Linked DNA regions of Homo sapiens: regions 1 and 2 are each linked to region 3. Evidence: promoter capture Hi-C in human tissues and cell types (Jung and others, 2019). All regions are on one chromosome and are shown on one strand. Each heading gives the region's core, a stretch centred on a gene start or on the middle of the fragment in contact. The rest is flanking DNA. Distances are from core to core; before and after follow the strand shown. Region 1 overlaps SRBD1 (S1 RNA binding domain 1). Region 2 has its middle 80 kb from the start of LINC01121. Region 3 holds the start of SIX2 (SIX homeobox 2).

Evidence for each region. The method cuts DNA at HindIII sites, captures the fragments that hold promoters and counts their contacts. A contact is called where the count stands out against the background at its distance.
Region 1: a contact is called between a fragment that was not itself captured here and the fragment with the promoter of SIX2 in region 3, in 1 of the 25 tissues and cell types used here (mesendoderm cells).
Region 2: a contact is called between a fragment that was not itself captured here and the fragment with the promoter of SIX2 in region 3, in 1 of the 25 tissues and cell types used here (liver).

The regions. Positions count from the first base shown.
Region 1 is chr2:45,435,706-45,438,561 of GRCh38, forward strand. All of the region lies in intron 16 of SRBD1 (S1 RNA binding domain 1), which reads right to left. Among named protein-coding and RNA genes, the nearest start is that of SRBD1, 170 kb to the right of the region's middle. The HindIII fragment of the contact is 4,079 bases long and covers 1-2,856 here.
Region 2 is chr2:45,333,674-45,336,671 of GRCh38, forward strand. No RefSeq gene overlaps it. Among named protein-coding and RNA genes, the nearest start is that of LINC01121, 80 kb to the left of the region's middle. The HindIII fragment of the contact is 3,880 bases long and covers 1-2,998 here.
Region 3 is chr2:45,007,680-45,010,861 of GRCh38, forward strand. SIX2 (SIX homeobox 2) reads right to left here and starts at 1,773. Exons shown (of 2, transcript NM_016932.5): 1 at 872-1,773. The coding sequence starts at 1,431. RefSeq lists enhancers at 468-1,241, 2,246-2,845. The HindIII fragment of the contact is 8,583 bases long and covers 1-3,182 here.

The sequences.
Region 1 (2,856 bases), core at 327-2,826, 430 kb after region 3:
ATACCCAGAAAGGGGTAGAAGTGAGCTATTCTAGTCCTGGAGAAAGGATTACACTACCCCCACCCTAACAAAATTTTAAAAAATAATCCTTACTCAGATGGGTTCACTGATGAATTCTATCAAACATTTAAGGAAGAAATTATACCAATTCTCTATAATCTTTTCCAGAAAATAGAAGCGGAGGGAATACTTCCTAAATAATTCTATGAAACCAGCATAACCTTAATTCCAAAACCAGACAAAGACATTACAAGAAAATGACAGATCAGTATTTCTCATGAACACAGATGCAAAAATTCTCAAAAAAGCTAGGAAATCAAGTCTAACAATCTATAAGAAGAATTATACACCATAGCCAAATATAATATATCTCAGGTATGCAAGTCTGGTTCAACATTCAAAAAATCAATTAATGGAATCTATCACATCAACAAGCTAAAAAAGAAAAAAAAAATCACATAGTCCTAGCTGCAGAAAAAGCACTTGACAAAATCTAACTAACACTCATTCATGATAAAAATTCTCAATAAACTAAGAACAAACGGGAAACATCCTCAAGGTGATTAAAAACATCTACAAAAACCCTACAGCTAACATAACATTTAATGGTAAGAAACCAGAATATTTCCCACTAAGATCAGAAACAAGACAAGGATGTCCCTTCTTACCACCACTCAACATCATACTGGAAGTACCACCTAATGCAGTAAGAAAAGAAAAGTTATATAAGATTGTGAGGTGTATTAGTCCATTTTCACACCGCTATAAAGAACTTCCTATGACTGGGTAATTTATGAAGGAAAGAGGTTTAACTGACTCACAGTTCCACATGGCTGGGGAGGCCTCAGGAAACTTACAATCATGATAGAAGGGGAAGCAGGCATGACTTACATGGTGGCAGGTGAGAGAGAGTGTGTGTCTAAGTGCAGGAAAAACTACCATTTATAAAACCATCAGATCTTGTTAGAATTTACTCACTATGAGGAGAACAGCATAGGGGAAACCACCCCCATGATCCAATCACCTCTCACCAGGTCTCTCCCTCAAGACCTGATGATTACAATTCATGATGAGATTTGGGTGGGGACACAAGGCCTAACCTTATCATGAGGAAAGAAAGAAAACTCTTTGTTCACAGATAATATGATCGTCTATGTAGAAAATTCAAAAGAATTGATTAAAAAACTCCTGGAACTAATACGTGATCACAGCAAGGTTGTAGGACACAAGGTTAATATACAAAAGTAAACTGTTTTCCTATATGCCAGCAATAAATAAGTGGTATTTAAAATTAAAAACACAGTACATTTACATTAGCACCCTCCAAAAGCTTAAAGTATAAATCTAATAAGATATGTATAAGATCTATAAGAAGAAAACTACAATACTCTATTGATAGAAATCAAAGAACTAAGAGGAGAGATATTTCATGTATGTGGGTAGGATGACTCAATACTGTCAAGATGTCAGTTCTTCCCATCTATAGATTCAACACAATCCCAATTAAAATTCTAAAGTTTATATAGAGAGCTAATTAGACCCAGAACAGCCAACACAGTATTAAAAGAGAATGAAGTCAAAGAACTGACACTATCTAACTTTTAAGACATACTACACTAAGCATAGTAATCAAGACACTGCAGTATTGGTTTAAAAAAAAAAAAAAAAAGACAAATAGATCAATGGAATAGAAAGCACCAAAAGACCCATATACATAGAGTCAACTGATCTTTGACAAAAGAGCAAAGGCAATACAATGGAGAAAAGGTATCTTTGCAACAGGTGGTGCTGGAACAACTGGACATCAACTTGCAAAATAATGAATGTAGACACAGATCTTACACCCTTAACAAAAGTAAATCAAAATGAATCATAAGACAGACATGGTGGTACATGTTGATATTCCCAGCTACTCAGGAGCCTGAGATGGGAAGATCACCTGAGCTCAGGAGGCGGAGGTTGCAGTGAACCAAGATCGTGCCACTGCACTACAATCTGGGCGATAGACTAAGACTCTGTCTCAAAAACAAAGACAAAAAATGAAACAAACTCACATCAAAATGAATCATAGACCTAAATGTAAAACATGAAACCATAAAACTAGGCAATAACATAGGAGAAAATCTAACTAAACTTGGATATGGCAATGACTTTTTTAGATACAACAATAAAGGCACAATTCATAATAGAAATAATTGATATGGATTTTGTTAAAATTTAGTGTCTTTATGATACTATAAATAGTGAATATAGGTTATTATCTGTTTGTCTAAACCCATAATGTGTAACATTATACCATAATGTAAACTATTAACTTTGACTGATAATGATATGCATTCATCAATTGTAACAAATGTGCCATTCTGGTGCAGAATGTTGAGACTGGAGGGGGCTGTGCATATGTGGCAGGAAGATTTATATGGTAACTCTCTGTAGTTTTTGCTCTGTTGCGAACCTAAAACTGCTTTAAAAATAAGTCTTGAAAAAAATCCCTATATGATTCATTCTGATCTGATAGTCTGATCTGAGAGTTAATTATCTGATTACCAGAAGAAAATTCAATACTCTTTAAAGGAAGACAACAAAATTTGTATTTTCAACAACACAGAGCATCCACAATATCCACCATGTAATAAAACTAGCTAGACATACAAAAATGCAGGCACATGTGACCAATAACAGAATAATGGGTCAACTTATCCAGCAGAAACCAAACTAGGATGACCCAGATGTTGGAAACAGCAGACAAGAACTTTAAAGTGGCTCCAGGACTTAAAGGCAAATATGGTCCCAAATCAATGAATAGATGGTAAACAGCAGTAAAGGAATTAAAGCTTTAATAAACAAAGAATAAAG
Region 2 (2,998 bases), core at 479-2,978, 330 kb after region 3:
GGGCCCTGTGGGGAGTGGCAGCGAGGATCAGATTTCTCCAGAATCACTCGGAGTAATATCTATCCTCAGCAGCCGCCCTGTGGATTCTGACACATCTCAAAAAAGCAGGGGTCTGGAAAAAGCAGTCAGCATCTCTTACCTTCTGCAAAAAGCTACTGTGCAGACTGTTCCTTTGTAGTTTGGACTTAAAGAAAAAAAAATCAAACCATCTTGGAAAAATCAGAAAGCAGATGCGTCCATAATGGAACTTGGCAAGAGCAATAGAAACCTCGTTATGGGTGTTACAGGCACTCACACCTCAATTAACCTAGGGGGCGTGGGGCTGCTGGTTTCTCTGCACAGATGTCAGGGTGAGAGACCCTCATGGCCAGAAGACTTAGATACCCTGAGACTCCTTCTGAAACTAAGGACCCGGGATCCCCACCCAGCCCTGGCCTAGGATCCTTTTCAGAGCTTCGGAGCCTCATGTCCAGGGTAGTCCGTGGACACGGGGCCACCTCTGGTGCACCCTGGGCTGCCTAGGCCGCCAAGCCCACCCTGGAGTGGCAGGAGCTCAGCCTGTGGCCAGCTCTGCACCCACAGCCACGACCTGGTGCCGAATTTTACTATCTGCCATTTACCATTCTGACGGGGAAAACAAATTTAAAACACCTGGAAATTTATGTCTCTGATGGGTCAGGTTGCACTGTTCCATTATATTAAATAATCCAGGCTGTGCGCTTCAAAGGCCGCCGGCCTCGGGAGGCCGCCAGGGCGCGGGGCCTTTGTTAGCGGTGGGGATGCGGGCAGCCCATGGCCCACCTGCGCCTGGGAGCGCCCCAGGGTGCTTGGGCCTGAAGGCCGGCGTTGGGGGAGAGGGTGGCCTTCAGAATCAGCCCCAGGCACTGGCATGTGCTCTTTCGGAGGCCTGCTTTCCCTTTCCCTGGACTGGGTATGACTCTCATCTGCACTGGCCTGGGTTCAGAAGGTGGAGGTTTCCTTTCTCACCCGGTCACTCACAGGCTCAGTGACGTGGGGCCCCAGTCTCCTCCTCTGTGTAACAGGACCTTAGTGGCAGGCAGCTCTGTTCGCGTGGCTGACGCCCCTCCCCAGCCCCATTCTGTGCCCCAGACTTACCAGGGGGGCTCAATTGGCTCTGTTCAAACTCTCAGAAGCTCTGAAGGTCAAGGTGAGCATGAAGGGTTGAGAAGATTGGAATTTGGAGGAATGATCAAACTGCTTAGACTTGGGTGGCTAGCGGGGTCAGTAGCAGAAGCTGGGAGAACGCTCAGGAGGCTCTTGCTAAGCAAAGCTCTCAAGGCCAGGCTGGCCAAGAGCAGCACTGGTTTTGGGCAAGAAGGAGTTCCGTACCCTGGGACCATCCGGCGAGTGACCCTCACCCAGCACTGACACTGCAGGGGATGTGGGAGGGCCAAGGGGCAGGGGTGAGGACTTGTGTCCCAGAAGCTGGGCAGGAAGGATAGGTGAGTTGTGCCTGGAGTCTGAAACCAACAGACTGGTTTAAGAACTCATATGAGGTCTTGGAAACTTCTAGAAAATGCTAGAGGATGGGATGGGAGTGGGCTCTGAGATGTTATCACCCTATGGTGAGGCCTGTGAAGCTTCTCAACGTTTGTGCTACATCTATAAGATGGAGATGAAGCTTCCTGCTCCCTCTGCCTCACAGCACTGCTGCAAGGACCAGAGCACACGTCTTCTGGAAGCACCTTGTAAACCTAAGATTCTGTAAATGAAGTCTTATTTTTGCAGTTGGGAAAAGGAAACCTGGAGGAGGCTGGGAACATGGCAAAGCCACAGCAGAAAGAGAAGACAGAGCTGGGTGTTCTCACTCCCAGCTCTGTGATGTCCAGCCCCCCATCCTGCCGGTCATCAGGGCTCCCGCCCCCTCCCCCATGTCGCCTCTAATCCTCTAAGTGTATCATGGATCCTTCCCCAGGTCACTGGTGACACCCTGCTCAGCCACAGCACCAGAGAGGAGAGAAAACACCACAACAGTCTTCATAGAACTAAAAGACTTCCTAGAGCGCGCTTGCCCTTTGTTTCTATAGCTGCTGCTACGTGGATAAGAGTCACTAGTTCAGCTCATATTCAGGACCAACAGAACACTTCCAAAGGTGGCTCACCTCAGAGACTGGGACTCCAGAGGTCAGCGTGCCTCTGTCTAGCTGTGCTTTCTAGTGAACACGTTACTTCACCTCCCCTGGGCTCAGTCTTGTCACTTTGGCAATGAGGGCATTTGGCGGCATTCTCTGAAGCCACCCTACCCCCTTCAATGGTCTGGAACCTTAGCAGCACATTTGAATCATCTGAGGAGCTTTTTTAAAATACCACGGCCTGGGCTCTGCCCCGAGAGGTTCTGATCTAATTGGTCTGGGATAGAACCTCAGGTGGTTCTCATGTGCGGGCAAGCTGGAGGACCCCTACACTAGTTGTTATGAGGATTTTATTCAGCAAACATCAAACCCCACATGGAGTGGTCCAGGGGCCAGAACCTAGACATTCAAGAGGGAGTTCCTGTGAGTTTAACTTCCTCTCCTGGAATAAAAATTTTAAGAACTCAAAAAGCACAAAAGTTGATTTTTGGGGGGGGTCTCTTTTCAAATTATGACCCTAAAGTTAGGCCGCCATCAGTCATATATAGGTCAGAAGGGGGCCCAGTCCTGACTTGGATGTTAGATGAGTTTATTGGCCACAGAGAGACTAAATCTTAAAGGACCCCCTTGGCAGAAGGAATCAGCAGCCAGCGTGGCCACTCGACTGCCTGACCCAGACCCCCAAGGTGAAGAGGCCCTTTGAGCCTCCATGCAGCAGCCCTGCCAGGAGGCACCACTGTGATGTATCACTGTGGTCAACCATCCCTCCAAGCCTCAGGGCAGCCTTTGAACTGGGTTGCCCTGCCCACAGTGTGAAGCCAGTGCTCTGAACAGGCATGTCGGAGAATACTGCCAGAAAGTCACTCCTCGGGACCAAGTAGGGAAGGGCCTTAACGAGCAGCAAA
Region 3 (3,182 bases), core at 523-3,022:
GTTCCCATAATAAGTTTCTCTCCAGGTTTGAGGTCCTGAGGGGTTATAGGGCAGGCAGTGGCAAGGGCCTAATGATCAACCTTTAGGCTGGTTCAGGAAGTCCTGGTTTACCTGAGGACATCCAACTCCCAGCCCCTCTGTGCCTCTCAGCTCACCGCAGACATTCCGACCTACCCATCAGAGGTAGGGCCTAAGGAGAGAGGCATCAAGGGCCTGGAGTGCCAGGGAAGGGCGGCTATCTCTAGCAAGGCAGAAAACAGGGCATGCGTCTCTTCTCTCCCAGAACTGACACTTCCTCCCTTTCACCTCTGGATCCTTTCTAAGGAGATAAAGGACCCGCTCTCAACTCCATGTGACAACGAAAATTCATGGCCTGGCTTTTCCCCATCCAGGTCATTCTAGGGAAGTTCCAGCCCCAGTCCCGACCCCATCACACTTTGGCCTGGAGCTAAGGCTGGGGGGAAATGCCGGGAAGCACCACCAGCAAGAAATCTGCAAATCCCCTTTCATCTGGGCTCAAACCCCTCTGTCCTGAGGATGACCAGACCTACTGTGCCTGCCTCACAGGGGATACAGGCCCACAGTTCTGCGCTGCCCCGAAGCTCTCTGCTTCTCCACCCTTTTCCTCTAGCGACCGAGTAGTTAGTTGACAACTTCCTGAATTGCTCTGCCCGCTTTAGACAAATCCCTGCTCGCCGGGTCTCCGGCATAGAAAGGCCTAAGCATCGTCCAAGTCAGGCCGGGCTGCCGCTGGGCTGTGGCCGGGCCTGGGGGCCCAGTTTAGGCCTCTCCGGGGGACCGGCAGAAGCCCTGCGAACCCCTCCCTTGGGCCCCGGGGAGCTGGCGCCGAAGAAGGTCTACTTACTCGTACCTTTCCTTGGCCTCGGCCGCCCGGTCGCGCTGCCGCCGGTTCTTGAACCAGTTGCTGACCTGTGTGGTGGTGAGGCCCGTGGCCTCCGCCAGCTCACGCTTCTCGCGGGGTGAAGGGTAGGGGTTGTGCGCGTACCACTCGCGCAGCACGCTGCGACTCTTTTCCTTGAAGCAGTAGCTGGTCTCCTCGCCGTCCCAGATGGAGCGCGGCAGCGGGAATTTGCGGCGCACGCGGTATTTGCCCACGGCGCCCAGGGGTCGGCCGCGCAGCTTCTCCGCCTCGATGTAGTGTGCCTTGAGCCACAGCTGCTGCAGCTTGGCGTGGTTGTGCGGCGAGAACTGGTGGCTCTCCAGGATCTTGTAGAGCTCGCGGAAGTTGCCGCGGTGGAAGGCCACCACGGCCTTGGCCTTGAGCACGCTTTCATTCTTGTGAAGGTGCTCGCAGGCGGGCAGCGACCACAGGAAGCGGCCCAGCCGCTCGATGTTGCCGCCCTGCTGCAGCACCTCGCACACGCACGCCACTTGCTCCTGCGTGAAGCCGAAGGTGGGCAGCATGGACATGGTGCCGGCTGCGTCCCCGCCCGCCCGCGCGCGCCCTCACCGGGCCGCGCGGTCCCGCATGGGAGCTTCCTCGCCGGGCCGTCCGGGCCGAGACGCGGGCGGGGCTGGCCCCCTGGCCCGGCACTGGCCCCCGGTGAGCCCCGAGTCACTGCCGTACGTCCCCGCGCCGGCCGCGGGTCCCACGAAGCTCCGAACCCCAACGGCCCGCGCGCCTGGCCCAAGCCCTCGCCCAAGCCCGGGGGCCGCCCGGGGCGCCGCTCCGCATGCTCCGCGCCCGCCCGCCGTTCCCTCGCTCGCTTCTCACTCGTTCTCCCTCCCGTCTAGCTGGCTCTCAGCTTTCTTAATAATATTATTCTAAGCGGGCATGAGGCGCGGCGGCCCGCGCCCTGATTGGTCCGGTTATCTGACCCGGGGCCTGCCAGCGCCAGACAATAGTCGGAGTCAAATTATTCGCCATGGAGACGCTGTCAGTCACTGGTAACCCGAGCCTCGGCGGGCCGGGCGGCTCCCCCCGGCCGGCTCCGCTGACAGATCGCCCCGCTCCGCGCAGAACTGAGGGCGGCTCTACTGGAGCCTGGGGCGCTCTGAGAGCCTGGGAGGCGGAGAGGGGCCGGGTTGGGGCCGGCGGCGGCGGAGATTGACGGGGCGGATGCCCAAAGAGGGAGGGAGGAGGAGGACAGGAGAGCGGGGGGAGCGGGCGAAGACGAAAAGGGGTGGATCGAGGTGGGGAGAGAAGAGGAGAGAAGGGAAGGCGGAGACCGTTTAAGGGGGTGTCCAGGAGGAAGGGGAGGGAGAGGGGTGGAAGGAGACTCCAGGGGAAGAAAGTTTGGGCAGCTTTGGCTAGGAGAGGGCTCTGCAGCCTCGCCCAGACCCTACAGGGTTCCCCTTCTCCCCAGGTCACCGCGTCCCTCCCAGGCTCTCTGTTCACCGGGCACATTCTACCCCGGCGCAGGCCAGTGGGATGGGAGAGTTTGGACGTGCTCGGGTGCCGCCCAAAGACTTGGCTTTTTCTGCTGACAGCGCCCCACCCCCATCCTAGAAACTCTGGACTCAGCGGTCCTCGAGGGAAAAGGGGAGGGAGTAGACGAAAGAAATGGGGAAGATTTGGCAGTGGCCGCAGGCGGACGCCGGAGAATCGACTTCCCGGAGGATCCCGCCTTTCCTCCCTCTCCTAGCCCCGCCGGCTGCCTGGCGGCCTGTACCGCCCCAACTCTGCGCTCTCTGCTCCTCGCCGGGCGGGGACTCAGACTTAACCCCACGGGTCCCACAGCCCGAGGAGCGCCAGGCAGTTCCGTGTGGCCTCTATGGAAGCTGACTCCGGCCGGCAGCTGCGACGCAGAACCCCGGACGGCGCAGACCCGCAGTCTGCCCACCGGGGCGGGGGAGAGGGGCGACGGCAGGGACTCTAGGACGGTGGTGGGGCTTCCCCGGTGGGTGGTCGGGGAGGAGAACGGAGGCAAGATTCCCAGTCCTCCCGCTTCGCCGCTGGGGATCGGCTCGGCTCCTGGCCACTCCAGCCTGGGAACCGGCTCGCTGAGCTCCGGGATGAGGTGCTTTAAAAGGGGGTCCTGTTTTTTGCTTCTTTGTCAGGGTGCCAATGGAAACATGTGGTGCTGGTCCTGTGGGAGAAGGGCTCGCACAAAGGTGGGAGAACTGAGGATGGGTGTGTTCTTGCTCTACGTTTTGAAAAGCCCGGGGCTTAGCTCCTTCCCGGACATGTCCTTTCCACTTCCTTCAGTTTCCTCCTCTTC